Linked DNA regions of Homo sapiens: regions 1, 2, 3, 4, 6 and 7 are each linked to region 5. The links are contacts of gene promoters, found by promoter capture Hi-C in blood cells and fetal thymus (Javierre and others, 2016). All regions are on one chromosome and are shown on one strand. Each heading gives the region's core, a stretch centred on a gene start or on the middle of the fragment in contact. The rest is flanking DNA. Distances are from core to core; before and after follow the strand shown.

The links. Contacts are between HindIII fragments. The CHiCAGO score rates a contact against its expected background, and 5 or more counts as called.
Region 1: a contact is called between a fragment that was not itself captured here and the fragment with the promoter of KMT2E-AS1 in region 5, in 1 of 17 cell types (erythroblasts). The highest score is 8.7, in erythroblasts.
Region 2: a fragment that was not itself captured here is called in contact with the fragment with the promoter of KMT2E-AS1 in region 5 in 1 of 17 cell types (erythroblasts); the score reaches 5.1 in erythroblasts.
Region 3: a fragment that was not itself captured here is called in contact with the fragment with the promoter of KMT2E-AS1 in region 5 in 2 of 17 cell types (activated CD4 T cells and fetal thymus); the score reaches 5.9 in activated CD4 T cells.
Region 4: a contact is called between a fragment that was not itself captured here and the fragment with the promoter of KMT2E-AS1 in region 5, in 7 of 17 cell types (naive B cells, naive CD8 T cells, M2 macrophages and 4 more). The highest score is 8.3, in naive B cells.
Region 6: a contact is called between a fragment that was not itself captured here and the fragment with the promoter of KMT2E-AS1 in region 5, in 1 of 17 cell types (total B cells). The highest score is 8.9, in total B cells.
Region 7: a contact is called between a fragment that was not itself captured here and the fragment with the promoter of KMT2E-AS1 in region 5, in 1 of 17 cell types (neutrophils). The highest score is 7.2, in neutrophils.

What each region holds. Positions count from the first base shown.
Region 1 is chr7:103,149,855-103,152,778 of GRCh38, forward strand. LOC105375434 reads left to right here. Exons shown (of 3, transcript XM_047421168.1): 2 at 1-710. It also overlaps a transcript of NAPEPLD not described here and the pseudogene RPL23AP95. Among named protein-coding and RNA genes, the nearest start is that of NAPEPLD, 2.2 kb to the left of the region's middle. The HindIII fragment of the contact is 2,071 bases long and covers 392-2,462 here.
Region 2 is chr7:103,131,604-103,134,591 of GRCh38, forward strand. All of the region lies in intron 1 of NAPEPLD (N-acyl phosphatidylethanolamine phospholipase D), which reads right to left. Among named protein-coding and RNA genes, the nearest start is that of NAPEPLD, 16 kb to the right of the region's middle. The HindIII fragment of the contact is 800 bases long and covers 1,263-2,062 here.
Region 3 is chr7:106,115,307-106,118,104 of GRCh38, forward strand. No RefSeq gene overlaps it. Among named protein-coding and RNA genes, the nearest start is that of SYPL1, 4.4 kb to the left of the region's middle. The HindIII fragment of the contact is 697 bases long and covers 911-1,607 here.
Region 4 is chr7:103,312,249-103,315,105 of GRCh38, forward strand. PMPCB (peptidase, mitochondrial processing subunit beta) reads left to right here. Exons shown (of 13, transcript NM_004279.3): 13 at 1-2,438. The coding sequence ends at 23. It overlaps DNAJC2 (DnaJ heat shock protein family (Hsp40) member C2), which reads right to left. Exons shown (of 17, transcript NM_014377.3): 16 at 699-853; 17 at 41-395. The coding sequence ends at 321. Among named protein-coding and RNA genes, the nearest start is that of PMPCB, 16 kb to the left of the region's middle. The HindIII fragment of the contact is 1,059 bases long and covers 808-1,866 here.
Region 5 is chr7:105,012,705-105,015,413 of GRCh38, forward strand. It overlaps KMT2E-AS1 (KMT2E antisense RNA 1), which reads right to left and starts at 1,437. Exons shown (of 1, transcript NR_024586.1): 1 at 1-1,437. KMT2E (lysine methyltransferase 2E (inactive)) reads left to right here and starts at 1,501. Exons shown (of 27, transcript NM_182931.3): 1 at 1,501-1,831. RefSeq lists enhancers at 51-420, 510-1,049, 841-890, 1,211-1,330, 1,591-1,820 and silencers at 1,041-1,090, 1,441-1,530. The HindIII fragment of the contact is 4,615 bases long and covers 1-2,528 here.
Region 6 is chr7:106,088,154-106,090,918 of GRCh38, forward strand. SYPL1 (synaptophysin like 1) reads right to left here. Exons shown (of 5, transcript NM_182715.4): 5 at 2,352-2,765. Among named protein-coding and RNA genes, the nearest start is that of SYPL1, 23 kb to the right of the region's middle. The HindIII fragment of the contact is 226 bases long and covers 1,229-1,454 here.
Region 7 is chr7:106,424,414-106,427,317 of GRCh38, forward strand. No RefSeq gene overlaps it. Among named protein-coding and RNA genes, the nearest start is that of NAMPT-AS1, 140 kb to the left of the region's middle. RefSeq lists enhancers at 342-1,541, 925-1,024. The HindIII fragment of the contact is 4,359 bases long and covers 1-2,904 here.

The sequences.
Region 1 (2,924 bases), core at 177-2,676, 1.9 Mb before region 5:
AGCATTTGAATACTTACAGCCTATGGCGCTAGGATCCTGGTAGCGAAGAAACTAAACTCTAATTTGAAATGTTGTACAGTACGTATTGAATATTAATGGGAGCACGGCATTGTTCACTGTGTGATCGTTTACTTTTAAAATGATGTCACAGCCCCCTGGTACACACGGTTCTCATCTAAATTTGCATCTTTTTTAACGCTAGGATAACTATGAAAGAGCATACGATTGTGATTCTGAGTTTCTTACTGGATTTGCTTTTTAAACTGCAGAATGAAATTAGTTGTTTCAAGAAGTAAAGTACAGGCATGTCGAAGTAAAATTCAACAATGGGTTGTTGGGCAAAAAGATTATAAAAGTCCTGGGGTGTGCCAGGGTCAAAAAAAAAAAAAAAAGCTTGTCCCTGGGGTTATCTTGGCAAAAAAGAAACCACCACCACAGGTTCTAAATGCAGATAAGACTGGCAGAAAAATGCAGACCAAACTATTCTGCATTTTGAAAGTGAATGTGCCTGTGTGACATTGGAGGAATGTAAAGAACTGTATGTCAAGTGTGGACTTTATCTCCTCAGGCTAGCTTAGAGTGGCTGCTGAACTTAAGGGTGATTAAGAGCTGCTTGCACCTGGGTGGAGCTGAAACTGCATAAGGTGAATAATACCTTTGTGCAACAGAAGAAAAAAAAAAAAGTAACAGCATACATACAAACCCAAAGGGTAAGTTGAAGTTACTACTCAAAAGTTCTTCATAGTGTTCTTGACTAAGCAACGGAGAAGTAATCCCGGCACTTTGGGAGGGCAAGGCAGGAGAATCCTTAGAGCCCAGGAGTTGGAGACCAACTTGGGCAACATAGCGAGACTTCATCTCTACAAATAATAATTAAAAAAAAAAAAAAGTAGCCAGCCTTGATGGCCCGCCCTTGTGGTCCCAGCTACTCCAGAGGCTGAGGTGGGAGGATCGATTGAGCCTGGGAGATCAAGGCCGCAGTGAGCTGTGATCACGCCACTACACTCCAGCCTGGGCAACAGAGAAGACCCCATTTCCCCAAAAAAAAAAAAAAAGCTGGGCGCAGTGGCTCACGCCTGTAATTCCAGCACTTTGGGAGGCCAAGGCAGGAGGATCACCTGAGGTCAGGAGTTCGAGACCAGCCTGGCCAACATGGCGAAACCCTGTCTCAAGTAAAAATACAAAAACTAGCTAGGCATAGTGGAGCTCACCTGTAATCCCAGCTACTAGGGAGGCTGAGGCAGTAGAACTGCTTGAACCCCAGAGATGGAGGTTGCAGTGAGCAAAGATGGCACCACTGCACTCCAGCCTGGTAGACAGAGCAAGACTCTGTCTCAAAAAAAAAAAAAAAAAAAAGATGCCCTTTGTTCCCCTCACTCCCACTCTTTTTTTTTAAGTCCTTGTCCTTTATTGGTTAAGGCTGAGGGAAGCAGACAGACCAGTTGGACATAGTAGATGGGTGTGTGAGGTCAAAGTGCTACCTGAAAGCCAGCCAACCCACACTCCCCTAAGATGAATGCTAATGCCCTTCAAACTGTGGGCATTGGTTTCACACACAGCCTCTTCCAGGGATAAAAGAAGGGGTTCTTGTAAAGCCTCTTCTTTTTTCTTTTTTTTTTGAGACGGAGTCTCGTTCTGTCACCCAGGCTGAAGTGCAGTGGCCAGATCTTGGCTCGCTGCAACCTCTGCCTCCCAGATTCTCCTGCCTCAGCCTCCTGAGTAGCTGGGACTACAGGTGCCCACCACCATGCCCGGCTAATTTTTGTCTTTTTAGTGGACATGGGGTTTCACCATGTTGGCCAGGCTGATCTCGAACTCCTGGCCTCAAGTGATTTGCCCGCCTGGGCCTCCCAAAGTGATAGGCTTGAGCCACCGCCACCCGGCAGCTTCTTGTTTTCTTACCTCTACCATGGAGACAAGTTCTGGTTTTCTTAGGACAACTAGCTCTGGTCATAAAGATCTCTGGAGTGATCAAGTATGGTGGAGTGGCAGAGTGAGTGTTCCAAAAGGATAAGTAGAACAGGAGTCTTGCCCAGGCCCTATTACAACCTCAGTACCTTGAATGGCCTCCCCAGCCCAACCAGAAGTTGACAAAGAGGCATGAACCTGGTGAAAAGATACATGTATTTATAATTAGCCAGCTGGACTCAGTTTAGATGACCCCAATTTTGTTGGCAATATCCCAGTTTTGTTGGGTCAGCAACAAAGTTGATCCCAATTTTGTTGGCAATATCCAAAGCATTGTAATCAGGAGCCAGTGGAGCTTATGCCTTCTTCCTGCATCAGGCCTAATCAGGGCATGGACTTTGGCCACATCAGTGTCATAGAGCTTCTTCACAGCCTGTTTGATCTGGTGCTTGGTGGCTTTAACATCCACAGTGAACACAAGTGTGTTGTTGTCTTCTATCTTCTTCATGGCAGACTCAGTGGTCAGAGGAAACTCTGTGACAGCATAGTGGTCAAGCTTGTTTCTCCTGGGGACGCTCTTCTTAAGGGAGGAGACCACCCCTCATATTGTCTTATGCCCAGTTTCTGCCTCCAAAGAAAGAAAAAGTAAAAACTAAAAGGCAGAAATGAAATCCACAAGCAGACAGCCAGGCACCACACCCTGGGCCTGGTAGTTAAAGATCGACCCCTGACGTAATTGGTTATATTATCTACAGATTGCAGACATTGTATAGAAAAGCACTGTGAAAATCCCTATCCTGTTTTGTTCCGATCTAATTACGGGTGAATGCAGCCCCCCAGTCAAGTACCCCCTGCTTGCTCAATCGATCACGACCCTCTCACACACACTCCGTTAGAGTTGTGAGCCCTTAAAAGGGACAGGAATTGCTCACTCGGGGAGCTCGGCTCTTGAGACAGGAGTCTTGCCAATGCCCCTGGCCGGATAAACCCCTTCTTTCTTTAACTCGGTGTCTGAG
Region 2 (2,988 bases), core at 413-2,912, 1.9 Mb before region 5:
GAGCCGAGATCGCGCTGTTGCACTCCAGCCTGGGTGACAGTGAGACTCTGTCTCAAGGGGAAAAAAAAAAAAAGCAAGGAAGGTTTGTGAAAGTCGAGACTATAGAGGGTTAAAAGACTGGACAGTAAAGATGGGACTAGATTGTGAGCCTGGACTCCCTCTAAGGAGGTTAGGCTACACTGCAAGCAATGGGGAAACACTGAACACACTTAAAAGGCTGTGTACTTAAGGGCTGGACACAGTGGCTCATGCATGTAATCACAGCCATTTGGGAGGCCGAGGCGAGTGGATCACGAGGTCAGGAGTTCGAGACTAGCCTGGCCAACACAGTGAAGGCTCGTCTCTACTAAAAATTCAAAAATTAGTCGGGCGTGGTGGCGCGTGCCTGCAGTCACAGCAACTTGGGAGCCTGAGGCAGGAGAATTGCTTGAACCCAGGAGGCGGAGGTTGCGGAGACTCCGTCTAAAAAGAAAATGATGTACTTAGGGAAGACAACTCTGATAGCAGGATTAAAAAGAAAGGAAGTGGCTAAAAACTGGAGCTTGGGAGATGGATTGAATGAAAACAGAAGAAGCCTAGAACACCCAATAACACTGAACCACCATGCCACATATTTCACCTATTTCATTTAAACTCATGCTCCTAGCAAACCCTCAAGGTAGGTATTATAATCCCCACTTTTTAATAGTGAATAGCAACCCAGTCAAAAGATGAGGAGGCAGTGCAATGAGAAGAGAAAAAGCAGAATAAATCCAAGAGACAACAAAGAAGATGAATCAGTAAGACTTGAGAGTATTTGGATAGTCACAAATTTTGGACTTTGTAGGGCTGGTTGGTCAGGAGGAGAGTGGGAAGAGTCAGAAATGGCAGCACCACTAATCAAGGTGGATTGTGACCCAGTGAGTTTGAGAAGGGTTTGAGGTCATGGGAAAGCAAGAACCCAAGAGAAAGTCCTCATTGACACCCAAAGGAAATGGATTCAGGCTGCTTTAGGGGTAAAAATAAATAAATAAATAAAATAAAAAATAAAAATAAAAATAAATAAATTAGCCCACTGTGGTGTTGCAGGCCTGTAGTCCCAGCTACTGGGAGGATCCCTTGAGCCCAGGAAGTTGAGGCTGCAGTGAGCTGTTATCATGCCACTGCACTCCAGCCTGGGCGACAGAGCGAGACTCCGTCTCAAAGAAAGAAAGAAAGAAAAGAAACAAAAAGAAGAGAAAAGAAAAAATTGGTGCAGTGATCTTTCTTCTCTCTAAATAATAAGCTTTTTCAAAGTTGTCTATTCACACAATCTCCATTTCCTCACCTCCCATCCACTCAGTCTTTCACCCCAATCAATCTGTGGAAACAGGTCTCATTACCAAATAGCCATCCTCTCCTAACAAACCCCCTCCCCTAACACACACAAAGTCCAGTTTTCAGAAATGCTCTTTAAAAAACAAAAAACAAAAAAATCTGATACAAACAAAACGAAAAAACCTCCAAAGGGTTTTTTGAGGGCAAAGGTCAGCATGATGGTTCACAGGGTCTGTGTTTCTAACCTTACCCACACTCTCCACACTCTCCTCTGCTCCATAAACACGGCCTGAAACTATTTCCTCAGATGTATCATGTACCCACTTCAGGGCGACCAACTGCCACGTTGTCATATCCTTGGGGTATGGGGAAATGTATAGTCACAGGATTATGGACTGCCATCCATGACAGATGTTAAAGCAACACAAAATGATCAAACTATGAAACACCATTTCACACGATGCACTGTTGAAAGGGCAAGAAGGAGCAGAAGCACGTAAAACCTGAGCCTTGAAACTCTGGACTGGTTTTTCTGGAGGAAAAATACTGGGAGCCCATTTGCTGAATGTGCAAAATGACACGCTCTGCCAACAGGTGCTCCAGTGACAAAGGAGCCTCAGCCCGAGAGTGGGTCACACAAGAACGCTCCTCATGCCCAGTGTCTTCTGGGCACTCAGAAGACCACAGATAAAATGACAGAAAAAGTAGGAATGAGGAAGAGTGGGTTGTCTGTATGGTCCTGTGTTAACTAGCTTTGAGCTCTTCAAGCTTGACAAACCCCTTAACATATCTAGCTAGAGTTTCTGTAATTAAATGTGGCAAATTTCAAACTATTTCTTGTTATGTAACTGTTTCCAAAATTAACAATGTAAATGAAAATAATCCACCCTTGATTTCAGGCCAACACCAACTGAAAGTAGATGTGTACATGAATACACAAAAACTGTAAACAACCTGTGTTTCAAAAAGTGCTTTAAAACTTGATAAAGATCTTTCCATTGTACTGATTTTGATTCAATTTAAGATCCATGAATTCTGAAAGAGCAATCTAAACAAATAAGTAATAAATAAATAAAAATACCATGAATTGTAAGGCACCCTGATGTGTCATGTGCCACTAAGGAAGTAAAAATGTTATCAATTATAGTTAGGTCACACGTTATACATGACATATAGTGATATCAGTGGTGTTAAAATGTGAATAAAATGTCTATCTCAAAATGGATGAAATATAGCATTTTGTGTTGGAAAATAAATACGTTGGGACAGGAGTGAAAACATTGCTCTTGATAATTAAATATAATCAGAAGCATAATTAATTGCTCATCCTCTTTCCCTCTGTGAACAACAGTTAGTTATAAACATACCAAATGCTAAATTTGTTCTAGAAAACTAGAATCCAGAAGAAAATTTAAAGGTAACAAACCCCTGTGACAATTGTATTTTAAATATAAAATACAAATGTTCTAGCCAGGCACAGTGGCTCATGCCTGTAATCCCAGCACTTTGGCAGGCCGAGGCAGGTGGATCACCTCAGGTCGGGAGTTCGAGACCAGCCTGGCCAACATGGTGAAACCCCATCTCTACTAAAAATACAAAAATTAGCTAGGCATGGTGGTGTATGCCTGTAGTCCCAGCTACTCAGGAGGCTAAGGCAGGAAAATCACTTGAACCCTGGAGGCAGAGGTTGCA
Region 3 (2,798 bases), core at 9-2,508, 1.1 Mb after region 5:
GAGCTTTATCTGTGGTGGTATAATTATGGCTAAGTTACCTACATAATTTGTCATTGTTTTACTTTCTCTCTGTGGCTTTGAACACATGTGCCAGACTGTGACACTTGGGATTTAGGAATGCTCAGAAGGCCAGAAAGGAAACTATATTTAGTCAACCATATATTAACTATATTAGACATCTCATTGGCTAACTATAATATTTTTTGTTTTTCTCAATGGGAATACAAAGTTTTGGTCATCTTATTGGCAAGATGAGACTTTGTAACTCATTCCCAACCAATATTTATCTCCTTTTCTGAAAAGATATTGTTTAATACCAAATTCAAAACCTGACTTTTGCTTATAAACACAAATAGGTGTTTTGTTTTCGCTAATGAATTCAATAATCATTTTAGAAAAATTTTAAGATAACCAAATTTATTTAAATTGTACAATAGATGGATTTAATAGGCTCAGTAAATTAATCTCAAAGTAATCTGAGGCCTCTTAAACTTTTCATTTTAAAACATATTTTGATTTATGAATTGCAAAGTACAAAGAGTTCTGTATACACTTCACCCAGTTTCCCCTAATGTTAACATCTTCTATAACCATCATACATTTGTCAAAACAAAAAAAATTAGTATTGATGTGTTACTACTGACTAAACTAAAGAATTTTTCAAACTTCATCAGTTGTCCACTAATGTCTTTTTTACTCCCCCAGGATCCAATCCAGGAAACCACATTTAATGTAATGAGTGTCACAGGTGATCAGAAACTATCTGGGGCCAGTGGTACAGGCAGTAAGAAGAATTTACCAAGACAGTCGTAGGTAAAGAAAGGCAGATTTATTTGAGAACGTAGGAAAATGTATTGCAAGGGTGCAACAGGCAGGTCAGCGAAAGAGGAGCTGACTGCAAAGAGTCAAAAGCTTGCTAGGGATTTTATAGGATGGTGCTTGTGCTCTGCGCTTGAAGAAGACTTTGTGCAGTATTGGTAATGCCGAGGTTGCAGTGAGCTAACTTGCATTTTTCTGTCAGCCAAGAGTCAGGTGGTAGCTCGGCACAGGAAGATTGTGAGTGATTTACACATGAGGGCTATGTGTCCTGGACCATGAAGAAAGGCAGACTTATAGCTTATCTATCTGCTTTCTCGTTTTGCTTTCCCCTGGTCCTGCCAGCCTGACTCCTTCTCCTGAATTAGGACTCTACCTTTCTTCACACCCTGACAGCAACAATGACTAATCTTTGGCATGTGGTTAAAGGTCTCATCTTCCAACTGCTTCTTGCTGACCAGGGGTGTATAGTTGGCCCTACCTAGGATTGTTAGTCGGTCAGGAGGTTATGTACACCTAAATCCCTGAGTTGGGACTTAAATTGGTCAGGGTTGCTATGAGACTATGGGAGAACAGCATTTGTAGCCTAAAATTTTGTTCTGCTGCATTCAAAGGAAAGTTATGTAGCTGATACCTTTGCTGTAGTACTGTTTTGGTTTGAAATTGTTGTATCCTAGAAAACACAAAATCAGATGTAGAATTAACAATACAGTATGCAAATAAACAAACTAATATGAGCTTTATTATAGGCAGAAGAAGTTGAGCAACCCATGGCCAAATTTAACTGGAGAAGCTTTGAAATAGTTGTGCTGAAAAGGAATCTTGAGGAACTCTGTTTTGAAGGCCCTTTAATATTTTTATGTTGTCTGTTATCTTTTCTAAACTTTCTTCTACCTGACCTGAGTTACTGATGTAAAAGCAACAAGTTTTATTTAACAGCATGCAGGTGCCTCCTGCTTCAGCAGGAAGCACCTCCTAAGTGAGTTGGTTCTGCAAAACATACCCTGCCAGCGAGTTCAGGGCCTGCCATTGGCCTTCAATGGCCGTGATTGTAGCTTCCCAAGATTGCTGGACTAGGATGGTGAGATTATGAATACTGCACTTAAGCATGGGTATATCTGCAAACCAAAAGATTGCACTGGCTACAGAATGTCCTAGGTCATTTTTCTCTATGACAGGATTATTATTGGCGAGGATGCTAAATGATGGGAGACTAAGTACTGCTTCTGATGTCCTTTGGAGGGACCAACATAAGAAGGATTTTAAATTTGGAGCTTGGCTAGAGGTTACGAAGTCTGAGGAGTTATATATGTGCACTCCAGATATTGCTGCAACTGTAGTGTAAGTGCCTCTTCACTTAATAGACAAGGCTAGAAATATGTTAGATCTGTATAAAAAGAAGAACCCAGTTCCTTTTAATGAAACTCCTGAAGAGGAACCTCACAACCAGGCATAGGTGTGATTAGTTTAGATTCCCGTATGGTTTGCATAAATAGAGGGATCCCATGGTCCCCTGGGATTAAATGTGGATGGGCAGTGACCCAAAAAGTAGTTATCCACGCATAAGGGGGTAAAAGTTTGACTTGTAGTGTTATGTGAATGTGGGGCCTGACAGATATGATTTTTGAATATTAATGGGATAAGAGAAAATTGAGGAAAAGATGTAGATGTATTAGTGAAGTTGAGAAGTCGTCCAGTTTTGACTGCTATTTCTATATGTTCCATCCTGGCTGCTGAACTATTTATAGGCATAAAGGAATTGTTATAAATCTTTCTGGCATGAACTTTGTTGTTTCCTCACCATAGAGAAAAACTGTGGAGGTACACAGTGAACTTGTTAAGAGTCATTGCATGGCTTCCATTCTGGTTTGTTTGATCATAGCTGACAGTGTAATTGCAATGGACTTGTGTGTTAAAGCCCCTGGGAAAGGGCCAGACTCCTTGGAATTTCTAGCATTATAAGCCATCTCTGGTGCCCTCCC
Region 4 (2,857 bases), core at 87-2,586, 1.7 Mb before region 5:
ACATGTGTTGGCTTCGTGATTAAAATGCTCCTAATCAAGATTGTTTGAACACATGTATTTATAAAACAGAGCTAGAGAAAAATAAAAATGAACATGTATATACATTTGGAAATTTGAATTAAATACTGTATCATACTTTCAAAGGATAAAAAGACTACCCCTCTGAAGGTTGTTTTGTATTAATGGTCAGTCTTTGTTCTCTGAGAAATTATGTTGGAAGCAGCATACTTTCAAATTATTACCATGAGTATAATTTTAAGAATGAAAATGTTTACAGTATTTTCAGTTTTATTATAAAAATGCACACACAACAAAGATTGTCATTTCTTGGCTCTACTTGCATTCAGCACTTGTTCTTGAGCAGCTTTCTTTGCTTTTACCATCTCGACAAGTTCCTAGGAAGGGAGAAAGGTGTGATTTAAGAAGTTGCGATTTAAAAACAGACATTTTAATCTAGTGTTTGGTGTAAAGAATTCAAGCAACTAAGATAGATAGTACTAAATATACTGATTTCATTATCTGCCAGGGCCTAGAAAGTTTCTAAGGTTGCTCATTTCTTCCTCATAATATTGACCCCATAACTACTGGTTTTGAAATAAGCACTATATTATTAACCACTTAATAGACATAAAATATGAGCTATATCACCCAAGCTACAATTTAAAATACAACAATCTATAAACGCTTAAGTCTGCAACCTTGTATCGTTTCATGCAGTCCTTCTTTGTCCTGCCAGGCACCGCTTCTGCTATTTTTTCCCATCTTTCAGGTGTATTTACTGGGTATGTTTTCAAAGCTTGTTCCAAAAGCTTCTGTTCTTCTGTTGTCCAAGGGGTGAAGTCTGTATATGGACCTGATTAAGAAAAATTTTTATTTGAAAACTGTCTTTGAACATGTTCTCAGACAAGTCTTGTGGTCCACAAGTATTCGCTAAGTGCCCATTTCAATCTGGGATGTGTCATTTTGAAAATAAACTTGTAGAGATGAGAGATACATATAGCCCTCTGAGTGTTAATAAGAGAAAAAATTTCAGATAGCTCACATCCCAGAAAATAAAATCTCAAAGGCTTTTAAAACACAATAGTAAAGATCTACCTTGTACTGTTTATCTCTTAAAAATCAATGTAATACACTCACCAGACTGGTAAAAAGCCATATTTAAATTTATAGTACTGTTGGACTCTTGGACTCAAAAACACAACCACAATTCATTAAGAGTTCTGATAAATCTACTTCCTTACAGAATAGGTAAAAGAGCTTCCTCACAGTTAAACTTTTGCTGGATAGAAACCCTGGAAATCATTCTTGTTTTACACTGAAGGAAACAAACCTAGCAAAATTAAGCCAAGTGCCCAAGGTACCAGTGCTGGAGAGGCAAGCTGAGATTAGATTGTGTTGTAGTGTGGTGTTCTCTTCGTCACATCTGCTAAAATCTTGGGAGCCGATGCTGAACACTTCCAATAACTGCTATTGTGGTTCTTCAACTAAACCTTGTATATTTCAGAAAACATCTAAGATGTGTGTCAGAAACAAATATGTTTCTTAAGGATGTTAAGTATTACACAGTCCACTTGTGTAGGTAAAAGTAGAATGTTAAGTGGTAGAAAGCTGATTTGGTTAAGTTAATGGACTTCTGGCAATTTAGTTATTTCAGACTATGCAGTGACAACACAGACTAATACTACCAGTAGCCTGACTACTACTAGAAACTGCGGCCTGTGAGATCTGTTAAAAGTTAAGCCTAGAAACCAAAGTTCCTTCCCAATTAAAGAAGGAAAAACAAAACAAAACAAAACAAAACCACCACCTATTCAAAACAAAGCAGAGAATTTGTATAATATTTGATGGTACCTAAGGTGCCTAAGAAGCTTTTTTGAAGGTAGCTTTTAAGTTCTAGGAAGTCTTTTGTTGAATTTCCTTGTATTGGTTTAAAGCCCTAAATACCATAGATTTTATTTCCTCTCTTGGAAAAAAGATGGAAGTGACATGGCAGTATTTCCTGCTGTTCTCCAGTTACTTCACAATACCAAAATAAATTAAACGTACTGTTGCAAAACTCCTATGAGAAATCACTATTCAAAAAATGGTGCCAGCTTGCTGTTTAATGGTACAACTGAAGAGGAAGGAGCCTTCCCATTTCCATAAAAGAGGCAAAGGAGTCATACCCACATAGCACTACTGCCAGTCACTCTTGCCTTCACAGGGTCACCTCTCCTCACAGAAAGCAGACTGGACAAATATCAGGGCCCACCTCCCTCCAACATGGAAACAAGTCCCCCTAAGAAAGAGCTGAGACTAGTGTGCTAATACCTGTTGTATTTTGTGGAGATAAAGGTGCAGGAGAATAAACTCCTTTATAAAGAAGTGTCTTTCAGGTGTTCTGAAACCCTGCCTTGTTACTTACCTTTATTAAAAGAACCGAAATAATGCCTAACTCAGCCAAACAAGTCACTGCTGATTTTTGCAATGATTTTCCTCCCCTATATTAACACTGTAAGTCTCATATCTTTAAGTTGAAATTTTGGGATAATAAGCAAGATTAAAGAATATAGGTAAAACTGGGACTCTTAGAAGAAAGAAACAGCTTATGTATAGTCAAGTCTATTAATCCAAAAGCATCTTTCTGCGATTAGTTTAAGAAAGGATTGGTGGCTCACAAAACATGAAGTGAAAGAACTTTTTCCACATAAACTGCTTTCAAACCTTGTCATAGCAAGAAAAAAATTTATATCACATCCTAAACAAAGACACACGTGATCAAGAGTTTCACAAGTATACCCACCCATATAATGGGTGTAACACTCATTTTCTATTCAACACACTAAATTGACTTCATGACCCAGTGATGGGTCATGAT
Region 5 (2,709 bases), core at 187-2,686:
CCCAAGCCCTGTCCCCTCCCCCGCCCCGGCCTGGGTCGGAGCCAAACCCCACAGGAATGCAGCCCGGTCACATGCGCTGCGGCGGTGGACGTGCCTCTCCCCCCGCGCCCCAAAGAGACCCAGCGCCATCTTGCCCTGACGCAGTTACAAAAGTCACGGGAGAAATCCTGTCTCCTCCTCCGCGCCAGCGCCCCAAAGTTTTGCAGAGGCCGAGCCGGGGCCCTCACCTCGCGCAGGGACAGTAGAAAATGGTCAGGGAAGAGCCTTGCGATTCCCTTCGCCACTGCTTGGGTTCCATATCGGCCGCGGCAGCAACGATCACCATCGTCACTTCTCCCTCTCTACCTTTGCAACAGCCTCCCCCTACGGCTTTGGCCCCACCCGCTGCTGCAGGATGAGGTCATCGCCAGCCAACCACGACGCGCCCGACAGGACACATCAGGCGCTGATTGGCTGCCGAGACCGCCTCTGCCTCTCCCCACTCCGCTTCCCCCAGCGCTCTGGGTCGCTGCGGGGCAAGGGGAAGACGGAAACCATTTCGGGGAAAGACCCCCAAAACAAGAGCCGGAATCGCCGTGTCATTTTAGTGGGGAAACCCTTCTTTTATTCTTTGGTCTCCCCCTTTTTTCTTCGAGATCACTGTCTGTCCCTCCCTCGTTTAATCACCGCCATATAAAGGAATTCCCACTCCCCTCCCCGCACATTGTCCCACCGGTGGGGAAATCCTTCCCCGAGGCCAAGAGAAGTATAGGAGGCAGCGACGGCAACTGCACCGACGGCAACGGCAGCTTTTTACCCCGAAGCACGGTGGCAGGGAGGCGGCGTTGACGGTGGCTGCATTTTTCCGGCTGCTTCTCCCCCCGACCTCTTCCGTTTCTTGCTCCTCCATCGAGACAGCACTAGACTCGCCAGCTCCGCTTTTATCCGGTGCCCGGAGCCTGCGCACTGGAGCCTCCTCAGCCCCTAGTGGGCGTCGAGTGACACCCCAACCGGGTTCACCCAGCGCTGGAGGCCAGACTGGGCTGGGGGAGGAGGGGGAGAGGAACGGGGAGACGGGACTGGGGTTGTTTGGGAGGGGGAGAAGGTGTATCGCTTTCGGAGGGTGACGGGAGGGAGTTCGTTCCCAAGCCCTGCTGTCCTTGTTCGTGCACCCAATACTGGCATGCCCAAGCTCACCTATATCCAGACTTGAGGGCCACTGGGGGAAAGGGGGAAAGAACCAGTCCCACCGAATACCGACACTTCCTCAAACCTTCGGTGGATTGTTGAATGCATCTGTTGTCAGAAAGACAGAGATTCCGTCCCCCTCACCGCCTCCAGTTTGCTATCTTCGAGCCTCCGCGGAGAGGCAACGGCGGGCGGCAGCCCACAAGCAAAATGGCGCCGGGCAGCTTCATCCCCTCCCCCTCTGCCCCTGCGGAGCGGGACGGGCGTACCCCGTGCACTTGCCGCCGCCGCCGCCGCCGCCGCGGCCGCCGCCGCCGCCGCCGCCATTTTCCCAGAGCGAGAGGCAGTGACACTGAGCGGGCGCAGGGGGCCGAGTCGGAGACCGTGCCGGAGTTCGGGAGCGGCAACAGAGTGGGCATAGACACTCCGAGCAGCCTCGCCGTCGTCTCTGCGTTCCTGTTGACTGCCTGGCTGCCCCCTCCCCTACTCCTCGGTTCCTGGTGAAGAGGCTGCGCGCTGCTGTTTGGGGAGGGGGTGTGTGGAGCCGGGTCCTGTGTCCGCAGTGGCTGCTGTCGGGGGGTCGCCTGTTCGCGGAGGTGCGGAGAGACTCCTTGGGGGTCGAGCACATAACGGGGTTCGGGTGTCTCGTGTGTGAACATCACAGGTTAGTGCCTGTCGTCTCCATGGGAGTTCCTGGGGCTTGCGGGGTTGGGGTACTTGTGTTTCAAGGGGGAGGGAGGTCTCTCATCTTTATCCTTAAGCTGGGGGAGCCGACGTTGACTCTCAGGTGTCTTTGCCGGCGCAAGACGTTGCTTGCTTAAATCGAATTTATTCTTTCTTCTCCCTGACCCTAGAAATGGAGCATTATGGCGGGTTTTAGGGTTGGGAAAGGGGTAACTGGCAGTTAAACCCCCTTGAGAGTGGGGGAGTTAGGGAGGGGGCGCACTCCTCATTGGCAGCGGGTTAAGGCCGCTTGAGTGAAGACGGAGGCTTGTGACTGTTAGTAGGGTTTGTGTCGAAGTGGTCCCAGGAGCTGCCAGCGCTCCCTTTTCTCAACCGCGTCTTGTTCAGGTGCTGAAAAGCCATATAGGCCCCATTTTCTTCTTCCATTTCTTGACGGGCAGTCTCTGGTATAATGTGCACATGAATACGAAGGGGGTAAGAAGAACGCCCTGGGCATCTCTCTTTGTGGGAGAGCGAGACAGCTAGCTCCTCATCCTCTCCTGGAGAGGGTAAACCCGCCCCTGAAGTGGTCACCCCAGTACCCAGCCTTCTCAGTCTCCTCCCCCACTCCTTTTGCATTACCGCCGTCCTTTACTGTGCCGGAGCCTTAGGATCTACAATATGGCTCATTTCAGAAAAGCTTATTTTGACCAAGGGATTGGCACAAATTCTATGGCAGCAGACACAGATGAGAAACAAACGGTTCACTGTGCTAAACGGGGTGGGGGTGAGAAAAAAACAATCCAGAGTGCTCTCTTCTACTGGCCTTAGTTCCGTATAGATCCGTCCTTGCTGGGCTCTGTCTTAAGAACGATACAA
Region 6 (2,765 bases), core at 92-2,591, 1.1 Mb after region 5:
GAAAGGACCACCAACCTAAATAGCAATCAGAGTAACATAAATTTTAAAGCATCAAAGACACAATTTCAAACTTATCAGATTGGCAATAGTCCAAAAACATCAAGTTATTGGCAATATGGAGCAAGAGGAAATCTTACTTATTGCTGGTGGGAGACTAACTTGTTACAGACATTTTGCTGAACAATTTGGAATACCTAGGTTACAATGGAAAACATGAACATCTCACATTCCAATAGTTCCCATTTCTAGTGATAGGTCTTAGAGAAGCCTTCACACACTGCAGAAGAATATTTGTGTGCTATTTTTAATAGTGAAAGGTAGGAAAAATGTAACTTTACCTCAGTAAGGAAAAGGCTTTATCTGTAATGTTTTATTTCCTTTAAAAAAAATCTGATGCAAAGCCAGGTGCGATGGCTCATGCCTGTAATCCCAGCACTTCGGGAGGCCGAGGTGGGTGGAGCGCCTGAGGTCAAGAGTTTGAGACCAGCCTGGCCTACATGGTGAAACCCCATCTCCACTAAAAATAAAAAAATTAGCCCGGCATGGTGGCGAGCACCTGTAATCCTAGCTACTTGGGAGGCTGAGGCAGGAGAATCACTTGAACCCGGGAGGTGGGGGTTGCAGTGAGCTGAAATCGCGCCATTGCACTCCAGCCAGGGCAACAAGAGTGAAACTCCATCTCAAAAAAAAAAAAAAAAAAAAAAATCTGATGCAACGCTGGGTGAGGTGGCTCACACCTGTAATCCCAGCACTTGGGAGGCTGACGCAGGAGGACTGCTTGCGCCCATGAGTTTGAGACCAGCCTGGGTAATATAGTGAGAACTCGTCTTTACAAAAAATGTTTTCAATTACCAAGCATGGTGACACGTGCCTGTAGTCCCAGATACTGAGAAGGCCAAGGTGGGAGGATCACTGGAGCCTGGCAGGTGGAGGTTAACAGGGAGCTGAGATGGCGCCACTGCATTCTAGCTTGGGTGACAGAGTAAGACCCTGTCTCAACAAACAAACATCTGATGCAAATAAAGCATTTGTTAAATATTATTTTGTATACTTACCTATTAATCTGAAATACTATATGAAAAAATTTTAAATGTGAAACATAAGCAATATTGCCTTTAACATTTACAGTAGGTTAAACATCTATTCAACTGACCTCTGTTCACTAAAACATTAGTAATGCTCATCTTTTTTATAAATAATTCTCTACAACCTAACACCTAGTAAGTAAAGCTTTTATTGCTTCTCTCCTGGAAATTATCCTATAAATGGGTTAACCTTGTAATGTTGATTCAAAAGCACAAAGGGAAAAGGCAATAGAAGTCCTTTTAAGATCTACTTTAATCTCAATACTTTTAAGTTTTAAATTTTGATCTCATTAACCTTATGAATGTCAACCAACAGAAAAATAAAACACACCAAAAGATCCAGAACTCTTTAAGGATTGTAAAGGGACAAGCTTGAAAGCCTGACGCCAATCCTCTCTTTGTCCAAAACCACCACCCTAACGGCTCCAGCCCCATGAATTCCTAGTTTAAGAATCTCTATATCAGATGCTATCAAAAGTTAGTAATCGTAGCTAACATTTATAGAGTGCCTACTAAATGCGGAACACTGTTCTAAGGGCTTTACATTTGTTAATTCACTTTTAAATCATAAACACACTGAGATCAGGAAAGTGGTTTAACTATTCTTAGTTTCAGTTCCCCGTAGTACAGTACAGTAAGATATTCTGAGAGACCATATTCACATAACTTTTACTACAGTATGGTTTTAATTGTGCCACTTCATTATTAGTCCTTGTTAATCTCTTACTGTGCTCAATTGATAAACTTTATTATAGGTGCATGTATGGATAGGAAAAAAGACAGTTCACATAGGGCTTGGTACTACACTTGGTTTCAGGCATCCCAGGGGGTCTTGAAACATATCCCCAGTAAACAGGAGGGAACTACTTACTTTATTTCCGACTTCCACATAAGCAAACTGAGGCACACAGAGGGCAATTTGCCTACAGTTAAACAGCTAGTAAGTGGTGTAGACAAGATTCAAATCTAGGCAGTTCGGTTGCAGAGCACACACTCTTAAGCAGGAATCTTTGCTAGTTAATTAGACAATTAATGAGAAAAGGTATATCAGGAAAACAATCTAAGAGTTGCAAATAAGTATTTTCTAAATGAGGTCGGAAGAAAAAAGGATAGAACCATAGTCTCCAAAGCATTTCTGTCTGTTTTATTCCTTGCCAAACATTAAAACTGTGATTCTATTTCCTGCTTTGAAAATCAGTTCTGTTTTGCACTGCTCAATGCCTTTAAGATGAAGGTTTCTTTGTAATATTAACAATCAGTGCACTCTTTCTTTCAACTCCTTTATTAAATTGGTTGCAAAAAAGATATACATTCTTATATTGACAATTCTTGTCATGAATAAAAGCATCAAAAATAAGGCAACAGCAAGATGTGCTTCACATATAAACAATCATGTTGTAAGAATAAGAAACCTGAATCCCTGTACAACAAAAAGATTAGGAAGCAAAATGTGAATAAGCTTGTATTCAGAATATACCTATATGTGTGTGCAAAGACAATACACTCATCATATACCTCACTTAGGTTCCTTTATGATGCATAATTCCTTAATCATTCATTTGTGAAACAAGAATGAATATTAAGAAACATGAAATCCAAATTGCACTTATTTTCACAATATCAATGCTAAACTCAAAATAGCAACTTCATTGACTCTCAATGGTAAATTTCAAACATGGA
Region 7 (2,904 bases), core at 379-2,878, 1.4 Mb after region 5:
GACCCAGGCGCAGGACTTCCCAGGACTTCTGGCCCTGGGCGCTGGGCCAGAAGACATCAGAGTGACAGGCACTGTGCTGTTCCTCAAACCCCACCAGGACCACCCCAGTCTCCATTCTAGTCCTGGTCCAGTGCAACTGAACCTAGTAGGTGCTTCTATTTCCCCCTCCTGTGAAGAGAGTCTTTCCTAGGAGACTCCATCACTCAGGTATGCAGACCCACAGGTAGGTTGAGCCACACATCATCCTGGCATTCACAGACTTACATCTAAATCCTAATCAGGGAGAGGAAGAGGACACAGCTATCTTAAGCTCAGGTTCCAGGTACAAAGTAATGAATGGGTAATTGGATAAATTACTGAATAAAAGAGGGAGAGAGAAATGGAATGAAAAGAAAAAGGGAAGGAAGGTAGATAAGTAAAAAGAAGAAAATAAAAGATTCTGGAAAGTAGTTCCTAACCCAAGTTCCAATCTCTCTCTCTCTCTCTCTTTCTCAATCATGATGGGATGGGGAGGGCAGAGGAATATGTTAGGACAGACTCCTCCACTTCCGTTCAAGTACCAATAACTAGATGTAGAAAGAAAGTATGCAAATTAGAAGACTAATGTTCTAAAATGAGTAAGAGCCTATTTGCTCACTCTTGGCTCTTAGGAAACTAGAGAACTCATGGGGAAGGCAGGCAAACAGAAGCAAGATTTCATCAGAACACTGGCCCCTTGTCAATTTATCACTCTGGTGAAACAGCGTGACGCTTGGGATTTCCCCAGAACGTCAAACTGCAATTTTACATGTGCTGCTTGGAAGCAAGCTGTGTAACTTCCTGTAATAAGGATTTCAAGTATTCAAGCAATAAATCTGAGATGCCAGAGCCTCTCTTAACACTGTCCTGTAGCTCAGCAACTCCAAATTAGCACAGCTCCACACATCCAAAGCCTGGAAAGGGTGGAAGATGAATATGAACGGACAGATCCCTCATGCTCACCCTTGGTGGTGAATTGAGTCATCAGCTGAGTATGGAAAGGAGTGGGGAACAAGCTCACAGGCTCTTTGTCTCCTTCGACTTTTGTTTCACATTTGCCAGGAGGTAAGGCCTTCATACCTGCAGCTGGGTCAAGTATCTGGAAACACGTGGGCTGCCAGCAGAGCCACTTCATGTCAGCATCAGAGTACAAAGTGAGTGTGAGACTGAGTGAGAATGTGAACTGCCAGGGTATTCCTACCCGTGTGGCCCAGGCCTGGCTGCAGGGAGGGCAAAGTCTGGCTGCAGGGAGGGGAAAGGTCAGCTACAGGTCCCACCACACATGTCCTCCAACTGCACTTTCCTTGTTCTAGCTTGGCATCAGCCCACCTTGCTGTGTGCCTTGCATGCCTCCTTCCTCTTCCTTTAGGAGGGGATAGAAGGGTCCAGCTGAGGATAAATACAACAATCAAGTCTTAGATAGCATTTGACAGCTATTTGATGAATGAATAAATAATAGATGCATAAATAAATGAATGAACAAATAAGCCAACAACTGGGTGTCAACAGGCAGACACGCACATTTTACAAATAGGTATTTCCCTACTTCTCCAGCGTGATAGAGTGGAGATCAATGGCTTTCACAATATCTTGTTAAACCTGAAAGTTTAACGAAAATATTCTCTTTTACTGAGTCCTTGTTAAATTAAAGAAAATTAGAAACAGCTACATATAGCCAGGGTAGGGGAAGGGGATGGTTGGGTAAGAAACCGAGAAACTTGAAGAAGGGGAGCAGATCATTCTGGTGGAGTAGGGACACCTGCCTTACCTGCACTCAAACATTCCCAAGTGTCGACTCCCAATTCCCAGTGAAGGCTGGAGGGGTGATGTTAATACCTCACACTGATAATCCACAGTGCCTCTCCTCAGGGTCCGCTGACTCTGACACCTTTCCCTTCCCCACTCTCCTCCCTCTTCCCTTCTAGCTCAAAGTTTGGGTGAGACTGAAAAGCCAATCTGGCTCCCACTTGCAGAGGAATCAAGGCCCCCAGAGTTTCAGAACCCAGAGGGCCCTTCGCTTAACACAGCACCTTCCTGAGAACTAGAAACAGGCGTCCCGATGGTAGTCACAGCTTCACAGGTGCATGGGGAAGTGAATGAAGATGTTGCCTTGTGTTAATTAGAAAAATATTCAATATCAGTCCTGGTCCTGGCGGGAAACAGATGACACAGTCAAAGTGGATAATGAAGGAAAGTGTGAGGGGAAGGCACCATTTACAAAGACGTGGGTGGGATTTAGGCAAACCTGCAAGGAATGGTATGGTATCCTGGGGCTAGCAACAGTGGGGAGCCCTGAGAGACAAGGAGAGAGAGAGCCCTGTACTGAGACAAAGCAAGAACTGTAGCTTTGGAAGCTGTGACCTTCAGAAAGGGAGAGAGACAATCAATGGCCCTCAGTAAGGAGAGGAGCCAAGAGAAACGCTCTTCCCTTTGCTCTCCTGCCAGCACCCCCAACGGTGGAACTCAGCCAGGTGCTGGAGGGAGGGGGGTGGGCCATGTCATCCACACAGGCCAGCCAGCCAGGGCACAGAGGAGGGTGGGAAGTGGGTCCAGAGAGGTGATGGGAAGCATCCTCATGGGTACCCCTTTCCCAGGCAGATGCAACCCTGTCCGTACACTCCCAAGGAGCCTCGCACAGGCTGCAGGTCAGCCTCGCTCTCTCCCGGGCCAGAAGCCCTTTTGCACGGCAAGACTTGCATAATCATATGTGACAGTCCTAACAGCCTTTGAGGACTATACCCCTTTTCATGTGTAAAAATATTACAAAAGGATCCCATGTCCCAAAATAAATAGAGAAAAACAAAACATTGCAAGCAGCTATCTCCAGCAACCATGTTTCTATTCTTCCAATTTGGCTCCACTTTCTCCACCAGCCTTTTTTTCTCT